Regions from separate parts of the Homo sapiens genome. Here region 1 is linked to region 2. Evidence: promoter capture Hi-C in human tissues and cell types (Jung and others, 2019). All regions are on one chromosome and are shown on one strand. The core of a region is centred on a gene start or on the middle of the fragment in contact, and the rest is flanking DNA. Distances in the headings are between cores, read along the strand shown.

What was found. Contacts are between HindIII fragments. The study calls those that stand out against the background at their distance.
Region 1: a contact is called between a fragment that was not itself captured here and the fragment with the promoter of SLC41A2 in region 2, in 1 of the 25 tissues and cell types used here (heart left ventricle).

The regions. Positions count from the first base shown.
Region 1 is chr12:106,870,356-106,876,699 of GRCh38, forward strand. It overlaps RIC8B (RIC8 guanine nucleotide exchange factor B), which reads left to right. Exons shown (of 10, transcript NM_001330145.2): 9 at 468-587. All of the region lies in intron 2 of LOC105369961 (a long non-coding RNA gene), which reads right to left. Among named protein-coding and RNA genes, the nearest start is that of TMEM263-DT, 82 kb to the right of the region's middle. RefSeq lists an enhancer at 6,066-6,344. The HindIII fragment of the contact is 3,835 bases long and covers 1,857-5,691 here.
Region 2 is chr12:104,953,841-104,960,873 of GRCh38, forward strand. SLC41A2 (solute carrier family 41 member 2) reads right to left here and starts at 4,450. Exons shown (of 11, transcript NM_001352171.3): 1 at 4,248-4,450. RefSeq lists silencers at 3,839-4,168, 4,359-4,628. The HindIII fragment of the contact is 10,569 bases long and covers 1-5,840 here.

The DNA.
Region 1 (6,344 bases), core at 2,524-5,023, 1.9 Mb after region 2:
TATAAATTGGCATGCTTTCATTTCCAGATTGTAGCCTCTCTGTCATCATTTTTCCAATTTTTTTTGATGTTTGTTTTATGCTGTATCACAAAATGGATTTCCTCATTTCTTCTTCCCTGAAATCATGTGTCCCCTTAGAATTAATGGATAAGCTGTGCATCCACGGATATCCTAACGGCACTAATCAAATTTTGTATTTTTAAAAAGCAACCATGCCTCTAAAAAAAAAAAAAGTTGGCAAGACAGTTTTCGTTTTTTAAAAAAAGTATAGCCCATTTCCCAAAGCAAATTAGTGGAAAAGTCCAGTTTTAAAAATTCCTATATCAGTTCTATACCATAAAATTGAAATTATTGCCAATTTTTTGGCTATTATACTCTTTCTTATTATCACTTAAAAGTTGGACCAGAAAAGTATAGAAAGAGCATAATTTTAAAACATACAGCATAACTTTTTTTTCTTTTTGTAGCATTAATCTTATCACTGGTCATTTAGAGGAACCAATGCCAAACCCCATAGATGAAATGACAGAAGAACAAAAAGAATATGAAGCCATGAAACTTGTCAACATGCTTGATAAACTTTCCAGGTATTGTATTCCCATCCATTTTTTGCTTGGTTTCTAAAAATGGTCTATTTCTTTGTCTCTCTCACTGAGAGTTACCATAGAACAGCAACTCTGGAAATCCATGTTGATTGGAATAGGGTGGCCCAGGCAGCAGTAGTTCAGATAGCTCTTGGCTACCATGGTTTTTCTACATGTGCCGCTTCTGGATGTGCATTCCTAAACATTTAAACTCTCAAAGCTAAGATAGTAACTACCAGAGCACTGTAATAATTAACCAACTAACCTCCCTGTCTTCAAAAAGATGCTGTGAGTTAGATTCAGTGATTTTGCTGCTGCTTGTATTTTTGTTTTAGCCTGTTTTAGTTTTTGTTTCAAATCATGATGCTTTTATTTTTTCATTTTTGATGTGTAAGTTTGCAATTACGCCTTTTTGGGTTGCTGCTGAAACCAAGAATTCTAAAATGTCATGCACCCAATAAGAAAAAGTGAAAAGAAATAGCTCACATGAAGGATTTTCTGAAAACAGGGACTTGTATTAATTAGGAGTTCTAAAAAAAAAAAAAAAAAAAAAAAAAAACCAAAAAACTCCCCTTCCCCTCTTGCTTCTCACCTCCTTCCCCTTCAAAAATAACCAGTTTTGAAATAATTAAATCAAGTATATACTAATCAGCAACTAGTCATCTTGGAGGAGTTATTAGAAAATAATTCCTTTCATACTTGGCTGAGTCACTCTATTTTCTAGTCATACATTGAGTCACTATCTTCTTTAAGCCATCTTGAATGAATGCTTCTGTGTGTTGGTGGCAGCTGCCACTTAAAGATGCATTTCTTCTGGCCATCCCCTTTTTCACAGTAACTGTGTAAAGGCTAGTATCCCTCAGTCAAAAGAAGGAGCCATTGGAATGGAAAAGCCAGAGAGCCAACCATGAAAGGGAAAGGTGGAACACAGAAACGAGCAGAGATTAAGGGCACAGCAGAGGCTTAGGGGTAGAAATGGACAAGAACAAGAGACTGACATGGGGAGTGTGACAAGTATGGATATTTATCCACGCTGCAGAGTATGATGCTGGTAGTGTGGTAGAAGTTGTTTAGGAGTAAATAGCTTAATTATCTACAAAGCTAATAAGACTAGAACTCAGTAACTTCCAGCTAGCCCTTTTAAATTTTCATCCTTTCTCAAGGTTAGAATTTACAGCTAACTGACTATATTCACAATCTTCAAAAGACATTGTTGCCTCTTTGCAAATTACATTCTCCATACCTTTGTATAGAACAGAAATGTTCCCTCCCAGAAGGGATTAATAGTCACAGAGAAGATACCGATAGGGCAAACCTATAGGAGGCAGAATAAGATCAAAATGAATATATAAAGATAAGATGTGTGCTTGGCCACTTCCAGGAGGAGCTGATGTAGCTAATGAAACACAGGGGTATAAAAACAACAGGATAAGAACCAACAGAGTCAGGCCGGGCACAGTGGCTTATGCCTGTAATCCCAGCACATTGGGAGGCTGAGGCAGGTGGATCACCTGAGGTCGGGAGTTTGAGACCAGCCTGACCAACATGGAGAAACCCTGTCTCTACTGAAAATACAAATTTAGCCGGGTGTGGTGGCACATGCCTGTAATCCCAGCTACTCAGGAGGCTGAGGCAGGAGAATCGCTTGAACCTGGGAGGCGGAGGTTGCGGTGAACCAAGGTCGCACCATTGCACTCCAGCCTGGTCAAACAAGAGCAAAACTCTGTCTCAAAAAAAAAAAAAAAAACAAACCCGACAGAGTCCATCTGGTAGAAACTGGAGAGGAAAGGTTAGCAAGGACCTGAGTAGAACACATTAGTGTGTTAGGACAGTAAACCAGTTGCATAAATTTCATATTCTGACCAACAACATGAGTTTTTAAAGTTTAACACAAATGCCATTTAACTGGGCCATCTACCCTGGATGAGTAAACTCCAGGTAGGGAAATGGAAGACAGGGGAAATAACTGCCTAAGACTACACAGTATAATCCAGATACTTGGCTTACTAATAGAGGAACTACCATTTCATAAGGCATCTCTATCACAGGCACAGAAAACAAAGGTGCTAGGTCCTTCTCCTTTTAATCTCAGGGGAATCCACATATTCTAGAAGCTGCCAACAAATAAATATACAAACGTCAAGTCTGAAATACCCCAGCTTCCACCTGATTTAAACTATGCCTCAAAGAAGATGCCTACTTATCCGGAAGTACCCAGCAGATGCCCAACTGAAGGTGACACTGATTTTTGCATGTTTAAAGCAGAGCAAATATGTCTTATGTTGGCTTTGATGGTATCAATTTTGCCATTAAAGTTGAAGCAAAAGGCAACCTTGAGAATAGTTCAAATCATACAGAATTTTTGCATGACGTGTGTTGGGCGTTTTACATTGTCTGCCTTTGTGTGCTTTCTAACATTTGCTCTCACTAAATACAATCAATGACAAAACTGTATAAAGATCAGCAGTGGGCATTCCAAAGCAGTAATGCAAAGAATGAAGTCATTCTTTATGCGTCTTACATGTCTTTTGTGCTGTGTTCCTCATTAGTCTTAAGTTTCTTCTCTCTTTCCACTTTTTTTTGAGGTAAAAAAAGATGCCATAAAGCCAAAATAGACTAAACTCAGTACAATTCAGGGAACATTTACTAAGCAGCTACTCTGTGCAAGGCATCGTGCTAGGAACCTGAGGAAGATTCAGAGGAGAATGTGACAGTCTCTGCCTTTGGAAAACTCACATTCTAGTGGAAGAAATGACTGTAATCTAGTCTAGAATACAAGGTAGAAGGAAATAATGACAAAATGAGTTCTATGTTGAAATGTAAGCATGCAGGAAAAGGAGTAGTTCATTCTGTCTGGATGATTCAGGGACTGTTTCACAGGAAAGCTAGCATTTGTGCTGATCCTAGAATTTTGATGTATTTAATAGAAAAATGGAAAAATGACCATTCATTCCAGGTGGAGAGAAATTTAATCTTGTTAATAAGTCTTGGATAGTCACATACTACTTATTTCTTCTAAAGAGCTCAGGTTGTTTTATCATTATTTGATTAGTACGTTATCAGATTTATCATTGGGGGAAGCAAGTACCAAAGAATTGCCCAAAGCATTTCCAAGCTAATGACTGATGATAATTCATTTCCTTTTAACAGTTTATAAAACACTTTCACATACATCCTCTTTCTAGTTTCATTTTAAAAAGTGAGACTAGACCTTCATTTTCCAGAACTCAAGACGTTTGCTCTGTCCACTGTACTACGGTGTCTGTCTGTTATAGTAAGTGTTTGCCAGAACACTTCCTCATCACCCTGTCAGCATTGTACTATTGGTTAGTTCCCTCCCTTTCACTCTAGGACGTTCTGCATTCAACCAAGTCGTTATTGTGCTAAGAGTGTACCATAGCTTTGTCTGATTAACTTTCCTTCTCAAAAATGAAATGGTTTTCTCCTGCACCTGAATTGAAAGGCATGTGAGTAAAGGATAGGGTTGGAGGTGATGTGGCCAATGAATGGACACTAGACACTTCCTTTTTTCCATCCATAGGAGAGCAGATGTGAAGGACCTGCACCAGGATGGTGGTTAGCAACAGTGGCCCGTGCCAAAGCACTTACCAAAGTGATGATGACTAAGGTTGGTCATGCCAAGTACTGTTACTGAGCCTGGTGTAGGGTATAGATGTTATTCACTACCAAAATTGTAAAACCACCAATGTAAAAGTTAAAATTACATTTCTATTTTGCCTCCATGCTGGACATAGCCGCTGCCTCAAGGAGCTCATCACCTTAGCAGCTTTCTCTCAACTAGATTTCCAAAGATATTGGAGAGATTAGTGCTCAGATATTTTCTTCCCATTGAATACCAGCTGACTTAAGAGTATTCCAAGTGATTTTTTTTTTTTAGTATAAGGATTATATTTGTGATAGATGTAGATAAGGTGATTGGCAGTGCACCTGGAGGTCTAAAGAGTTGGAAAAGAATCTGAACCCTATAAATCCCATCATGTCTAGCTAGTACAGTGCCTTGTACCCTGTGGTTTCCACAGTATGTGATGATGAAATAATGAAAATAGCTGATCCCCAAATTTGAAGGGCAGTTTTTTGCTTTAAAATACCTACATGGCTTAAGACTTTAAAGTACACTCTGTCAGTTCCATTTTTTGGCCAGATGTCATAAAATTCAGGGCCAGAAAGGAATTCCATAAAGTACTTTGAGCCATGACTGGCTTATTTAAATATTGGGGTCCATAATTCCTTTAATATAGAATGATAACTGTAATATTTATCAAATATAAACATTTAAGGCCTGAGGCATGAAATTATAGAAAGCCTCATTTGACATTTTTTAATGTGAGGGCAGAGATGGAAAAGCGGATGAAATTTGCCTGCCTCTTCACCTCCTCTTTCCTTCCCTGACTTCGGAAAAAATAAGCCCCTGCAACTCAAGCAGGAGATCTGAATGGGAATTGTGTAGTAAAAGCAAGCCCACTGTGCCTAATACAATTTCATTTGCCTTAGCTATTGCACACAACTTGTATATAATAGTGGTGCCTCCTCTAGAAAAGGGGAGAGAGCATTGACTGGCTTAAGCTTAAACTAACCAAGGGAAATAATATTTCAAGTTACAGTTTTGTTTTGACTTCTCTAATCCCCTTTAGTTTCTACATTGGAACCAGAGCTAATTAATCCTCTACTCACCCTTACCCCATCACTGTCTAACAAGATACATTGCCTTTTTACTTATATATTCTGCCATCAAAATCTATGTTTTAAAATTTATATTTATATAAATTAAAGATAATTGTTCTACCATTTCTTCCTTTTCTTACTCCTTAGCCAATAAGTGTTTTGTTTTTTTTGTTGTTGCCAGTCATTGTGTACTATTTGGAACATGACTTTTATAATAAATGCAGGCACCAGATATAGGATTAGTTCCCTTTAATCAAAAGATTAATTTTAAACTGACTAAGGCTGAGATAGGTAGTTTATAACTGAAAAATAACAAATACATAGTTTTTTCTTAAAAATAAGTTATTTTACTCTCCTTACAAAAATATCAACGACTGTGATTATACCTACCTTTGTGATAAGTTAGTTAAGGAAATGCTTTTCAGGTACATTTCATAAACATGATCTAATTTTTAGAGCATTGTAAGATCTATTATAGATATGAAAATATAAAGATCTTGTTTTCATCAGAATATTCTTTAGACTACCCTGTCCAGAGTATGGTAACCACAGCTATATATGACTGTTGAGCACTTGAAATGTGGTTAGTCCAAATTGGGATGTCCTATCAGTGTAAAATACTCACTAGATTTCAGAGACTTGGCACAAAAAAAGTAAAATATCTCATTATTTGTTTAATATAGGTTACATATGGAAATGATAATATTTTTGATACACTGGGTTAAAATATTAAAATTAATTTTACCTATTCTTTTTCAATGTGGCTACTAGAACATTTAAGAGTACATACACTTGGCTTACATTGTGGCTTACATTATATTTTTATTAGACAGTGCTGTTCTACCTCATTAAAATATACTGTAAGGTTGCTTGGAAATTGAATTAAGAGGACTTGGATCCAGCTAAATTAAACACCTTAAGGTGTCAGGGGAGGATTAACTTGAGAAGCTTGATATTATCTATCCTTAGGTTATATAGGACCTTTCCAGTAGCTAGACACCTTTAAGTAGGACGTCATGCTACCTTTGTATTGCCTATCTGTAGTCATTGTTCTTTAGATCTGTAGTGGGACTAACT
Region 2 (7,033 bases), core at 3,200-5,699:
TGAACAACAGTAATCCCAGTCTGATTTCTGGGTCCTAGGAGAACAGTTAGCATGGAGCAGCAAGGTGGGGCAAAAGGAAAGAGGGATCAAATGAAGGAAAAGGTTTCCACTTTTCCTATTTAGACATTTTTCTTGGGCAAAAATGTCTAAATAAGTCGAATCTGTCTTTATATCCTACAATCTTTCCTTCCAAATTGTTTCATTCTTGCTTTTCTTTTCTCATCTTTCAGATCCCTCATGCTATCTAAAGCTTTCCATTTTTTAACATCCTCACTTTTAGAAGTAGGGCAAACTTTGCCCAATATTCCAAAATGTTCCACGATCTCATAATACTTACATCTACTATCCCTCCTCAAGTCAAAACTCCCACTTCCTTAGTGTAGCTAACCAAGAAGAAAGCAATCTGATTAAATCCATTCACATTAAAATAGAATAACTGACAGTTCTAGTCATTTCCATCTAAATATTTCTGTATTTGTTATTTTTAAGCTAAATAAATCTAACTGCAGTACGTTCAGAGAGAAGAAAAAGTGTCCCTACCCTCATCTACCATAAAGGAGACAGGTCAGCTGTGACCATCACTTCTCAGGGATATCTCCATAGCGATTCCCAATTGTCACTGCCCTCTACTTTCAGTCCTTCCCAATAAGCGCCACTAAAAACCCCAGCGGGCAGAGAAAACATCTGTAGCTGCAGGATATTTGTATATCCATTGGGTAAGTTGGTAACAATCAATATTAGGTTGGATAGTTTATATTTTCAATACGTTTGATAATAATTTCATTAGTTAAAACAAAGTAAAAACACATTTTGGGTTATAAACCCGAAATTACCAGCCTCATTCTTCTAAATAAAGGCAGTGGCATAAAAGGGTTAATTCATATATCCATCATTTTGTAATGTATAGGTTGAAGCAGAGTTAGGCTATGCTTCACATGCTTTTTATCAGTTGCTTATCTATTATTTCCATTTGGAAACCTTTACTTGTATTTTCTATAAAGTTTTGGAAATTGGGAAGTGTACTTTCCAACAATGAGAAAGATTCTTTTCTTGACGAAATTTTACTCAGGCCCCTGAACCTTCTAGGCCCATTTGTGCACTTCCTTGTAAAATGCAGTTTTATCAAAGAACCTCGTCAAGTGAGTTTAGCAACAGCCCCTGACTCTTGGCCCTTGCTTTTTTTTTTTTTTTTTTTTTTTTGAGTTAAGACGAAGTTTTGCTCTGTGCAGTGGCGTGATCTCGGTTCACTGCAACTTCCACCACCTCCTGGGTTCAAGCAATTCTCCTGCCTCAGCCTTCTGAGAAGCTGGGATTACAGGTGCCCGCCAGCACACCAGGCTAATTTTTGTATTTTTAGGAGAGACAGGGTTTCACCATGTTGGCCAGTCTGGTCTCGAACTCCCAACCTCAGGTGATCTGCCCGCCTCAGCCTCCCAAAGTGCTGGGATTACAAGCATGAACCACTGCACCCAGCTGGCCCTCGCTTTCTGATTACCCTCGCTACCTGATTACCCTCACAACCTGATTAGGTTCCTCAGCTTCCACTGTCCCCCAGGTGGTGTCTGATCACTCTGGCCTGTCTTCAGCAAGAATCCTGTTAGGTTGGTTTGGTCTGAATATCCACTACCCCCGGTGTTTCCTCTCAGTACTTTTCTGTCCACTGACCATGACACTGCTCCTTGGCTATAAATTCCCATTTGCCCACACCGTATTCAGAATTGAGCCTAGTCTTCCTCCCAAACTGCAAAATCCCATTCCATGGTCCCTTTACCTATCACAATGGTCCTGAATAGACTTTTTTTTACCACATTTTAACAAGTATCATCGAATAATCTTTTTCTTTAACAACAATCATATTAGATCAGTGGAAAATTGAGTTTGAATTCCTGGGAGGTAACATCAGGTCTTTTTAGTGGTTTTTTTTTTTTTGGCCATGAAAGACCTGATGCTGAATTTGTGTGCGCTCGGAAATTAACCATGAAATAAGCACAGCAGCATTCATTTAGCTGTAAGTGGCTCTTAACTTTAGTGCCATCAAAAATATTTATTTACCACCCACACATGAACATAATTGTAATAAAAACTACACTGCACAAACTTAAGAAAACAAGATTCTCCACTTTACTGAGAAGTTAAACATAAATTTTTGAGTGATTTGTGCTTGCCATTTATTGTTAGTTTGTTCAGCTGGCCACTAATATAAATTTTTTGTAATTAAAGTGATAACTGGGATTTTCAAATTGAGCATAGAATATATGAAAATACCAATTAAGGGTGGTCTCTCTTGACTCCAGTCAGGAATATGCCTTCTGTAGCTTTGCTCAAAATACCAGGGCAGTAAATGTAAAGGGGTCAGTAAGATGTCCAGAATGAACAGGTAGGGTATTCTTAAAGAATGAAGTGGCACTTATTCAACCTTTACCCAAGAATAAGCATTAAGTTTTTCGGTATCAGATTGGTTGGATTTTTTCAAGTCAGTGCCAGTATCCAAACCTATTAACAGAAATTTTTTTCCATAAATGAACAATAAAACTCAATAAAAAGCTAAGCAACCCAGACTGGCCGTGGTGGCTTATGCCTGTAATCCCAGCACTTTGGGAAGCCGAGGTGGGCAGATCACTTGAATTCAGGAGTTGGAGACCAACCTGGCCAACATGGTGAAACCACGTCTCTACTAAAAATACAAAAATTAGCCGGGCATAGTGGTGTGTGCCTGTAGTCCCAGCTACTTGGGAGGCTGAGGCAGGAGAATCGCTTGAACCCCGGAGGTGGAGGTTGCAGTGAGCCAAGATTGTGCCACTGCACTCCAGCCTGGGTGACAGACTGAGAGTCAGTCTCCAAATAAATAAATAAATAAATAAATAAAAATAAAAAGCCAAGCAACCCAATTAAAATATGGGTAAAAGATATGAACATTTTCTCCAAAGAAAATATATGAATGGCCAATAAGCACATGAAAAGATGCTCAGCATCCCCAATCATTAGAGAAATGCAAATCAAAACCACAAAGAGATACCATTCCACACTCACTACGATGGCTATCATAAAAAATAACCAGTAAAAAAGTAACAAGCCTTGGGGAAGATGTGAAGAAATCGGAACCCTCATACACTGCTTAGTGGGAAAGTAAAATGGTACAGCTGCTTTGCTTGGCAGTTCCTCAAAAAGTGAAACACGGAGCAATTGCCCTCCTAGGTATATACCCAAGAGCACTGAAAACACATGTCCACAAAAACGTGTAAACAAATGTGCATAGCAGCATTACACACAATGGCCAAAAACTGGAAACAACCCAAATGTACATCAACTGATGAATAAACAAATGTGGTACACTGATACAACAATATTAATATGCTATAAAAAGTAAAGTACTGATACATACTACATGAGTGAAACTTGAAAACATTACAGTATGTCTTTCGACGCCAGACACAAAAAGCCACATATTGTACGCTTCCATTTATATGAGATTTCCACAACAGGCAAACCCATATAAACAGAAAGTAGATTAGTGGTGGCTAGTGGGGTGGGGTCAAGGGGAAATGAGGAGTGATTACTAAGAGAGACAGGGTTTCTTTTGGGGATGATGATCTGGATAGTGGTCATATTTGGAAAACTCTGTGAATATATTAAAAGCCACACTTTAGAAGAATGAGTTTTATGGCATGTGATGTATATCTCAATTTAAAAATTGTCACTACAAAAAAAAGATGACATATATACGTAATATACACATCAATGTATATCGGTAACACATAGATATGTGTCATCTCTCTCTGTAAATGAGCATTTGGGCTTTTAAATTTGAGATATGCTCCGTGTATATAAAGAGAAGAATGAAAGAAAAGGGTGACGGGGCACTCGCGGAGCCCTGAACAGGCATCTGGGGTGTGCCCGAGCCAGCCTCGCAGCATCTCCATCCCAGCTCACCTTCAGCCATCACTCATACACCACCCGCCGCCTGTCCCTGCCTTGGGCGCCCGGGACCGCTTGTCCGCGGTGGCCGCGGAACAGCTTCCCTCAGCCCGAGGTGGGGCAGGCGCGGGGGCCTGGGCTCGGGCGCTGCCCGGCGGCCCGGAGAGGCGTCCGCAGGGGGCACGGCTGCTCGGGCGGGGCCGCTCCCTCTGCTCCCCGCGCCCCCGCCGCCGGGTCCCGAGCCCAGGCCTCTCGGCCCCACCTCCCTCCCGCACCTGATGCGCCCGAACGCGGCGCCGCGGCCGAAGCCGAGACTTCCCCTCCATGGTCACCTGTTCCGGAGCGCGGCGGCGGCAGCGGCCGGTGTGAGAAGGGTCCCCGTCTCCTCAGACCAGACCGAGACACCAGGGGCGGGGGATGGAAGGGGCATTCACCTGGTGCCCGGCACCGGTGGTGGCGGGGAGGACAGCGGCTCCCAGCCCACAGCTCCTTCCTGCTCCCGCGCCTCCTCGCGCGGCTGCGGCCCCAAGCTGACAGCCCGGCCGTCGGCGCCCGCGGCCCCCTGACTCCCCGCCGCCCCGCCCCCGCGCGGCAGCCCCGCGCAAGCGCAGCCGCGCCGCCGCCGGGGAAGCCCGGGCCTTGGTGATGTGGCCCGCGGGGCGGCGACCCGGAGCGACAGCACCGCCCCGCCCGGACCCCGGCCGCGCCCTGGCAGACAGCTGTCGGGAACGGGGGCGCTGGATGACGGCAAGGGGGCAGTTTTCTGGGGAGCCTGCCCAGGAGAGAAGGGCTGTGGCCTCCTTCGGCATCCCTCTTCCCCACCAGCCCACGCACGCCCACTTCACCGCCTGCTCCAAGGTCCGAACCCCCGAATCCATGACTCATGATTTCTCTTCTCAGACCAGCGGCCTCTTTTTGGCTGAGGTCATGTTTCTTGCAGACTGGAGTTAAAACCGAACCACGTGTCTTTCGGCCCAGCAGCGCATAGTGTGGGCGGTGCAGGAGCCGAGACGGGCAGGAACCACCGCAGGAGGGGGTGAGGTTTAGGGCAGCCCCATAGCACCCTCCCCGTGCCAGGCAGGTGTAGGCGCCAAGCGCATGGGGCGCTGAAGAGTTGGCTGGGGTGCCAGGCTTTTCAAGTTTCCCCACACTTGCTTTTAAACCTAGATCAAACTGATCCAAAGTCTGCATGTAAATCCGAGAGCTCATTTATTTTATTTACAAAACTATTGAGCATCTACTGTGTATGATTCAGGGAATGAGACACACCCCAGGGATACTCCAGTGAACAAAAGAAAGGTGTTGGTCCGAAGACAGTTATTTTAAAAATTACACAGCTAATGCCATAATGCCAGGATTGGTGGCTCATGCGTGTAACCTCAACACTTCGGGAGGACCAGGCGAGAGGATCGCTTGAGGCCAGGAATTTGAGACCAGCCTGGGCAAACACAGCGAGACCTGGAGTGGCTAGGAGACTGAGGTGGGAGGATCGCCTGAGCCCAGGAGTTCAAGGCTGCAGCGGGCTATGATCGCATCACTGCACTCCAGTCTGGGCCACAAAATGAGACCTTGTCTCTAAAACAACAACTCAAAATTACACAGCTAATGATACTCTTTTCCTCAAATCAAAGCTTCTACCAATTCCAAGCCACACCAGTGATTTAGTAGCAGCTTTTCTGGTGCTGAAGGACACCAGCATACATTTATCCATGTTCTTTTTTTTTTTCCTTATGCTTTGCGATCAGACTTTGAGCTTTAACCTTAACCTTCAGGGTGAAGGGTGCTTCGGTATCACTCTTGGCCATCTGCAGTCATGCTTTTTATAATGACTCATCCTGGTGTTCCTCACCACCTAAAAATGAAAGTATAATTGCAAGGAATATGGAAAAGCAGTGTTTTGACTGCATTTCCAGCTGGTTTTTGTTCTGGTTGTTTTTTGAATTACAGATCATTAGAAAGTAGCTGCTCTTGAAAGTTTGGCAGAAGTTCCACCCAATATGTGTTCCTCCCCTGAGTGTGTAGTCTTTCAAGATTTCTACACAAAGCATATACAGAAGCCAGCCTGTCTTGGTTTTGAAAATTCTTCCACCATTTTTTTCTGAGAGAGCTGGTGGTTTCTACCGTCCTTCAGAGCATTACATGGCATGTGGCAGGCAACCTTCTACTTACATTCTTCATTCAGTACCGCAAAGTAGTGTGTACTTTGGAGATATGTTAAGCTTCAAGTTGGAATCCAAATTTAAATCAAATTTCAGCCCTGAAAATAACTCACATTGGAATCGGGCGAGGAAATGCCCCCTTGTAAAAAACTGGGTCCTAATGGGTGCAGACAACAACAATCCCATTTCTACTTCATCTCCCGTCTGACAGCTGGCAACTTCAAATGTGAAGCAAGTGGCTTGGACTTGAGGCTGTGTGGTGATGCTGTTGTGATTGCTGGAAAAAAGCCTGAGAGTTATGAGAGTGTATAACAAAGGAGCGTGTCTGTGCTAGGGGGTAAGAAAGATCTCCTGGAGGAAGTGACATTTAATCTCAGCCTTGAAGAATAAGGAGGAGTTAGGGCAGGCAACATAGAGAAGGGGGTGGGGTGGGCAGTGCATTTAGCTGTGGAAACTGCAGGTTTGAAGGCCCTTTGGTAGGAAGAGGCTCTGTCTGTGAAGGCTTTGGGAAAAGGCCACTGTGCTTAGACTGAGAGAGCTACCTGGGAGGGAGAGGTGGGCGGGCCCTTGAGGGTCAGGTTAAGGACTTTGGATTTAATCCTAAAGACAAAAGAAGCCAATGAAGAGTTGAAAAGGTCCTATCTGGACATGAAAAATTGCATTTGTAAAAGATGATCCTGGATGCAGTGGCTCACACCTGTAATCCCAGCACATTGGGAGGCTGAGGTGGGAGGATCACTAGAGGCCAGGAGTTTGAGACCAGCCTGGGCAACATTGCAAGACCCCCATCTCTACAAAAATAAAATAAAATTAGCCAGGCTTGGTGGCACGCACCTGACTGAGCCCAGGAGCTCGAGGCTGCAGTGAGCTATGATCGTGCCTCTGCATTCCAGCTTGGGCAGCAGAGTGTGAGACATTGTCTCTTAAAAAAAAAAAAAAAAAAAAAAAAAAGAGATTAT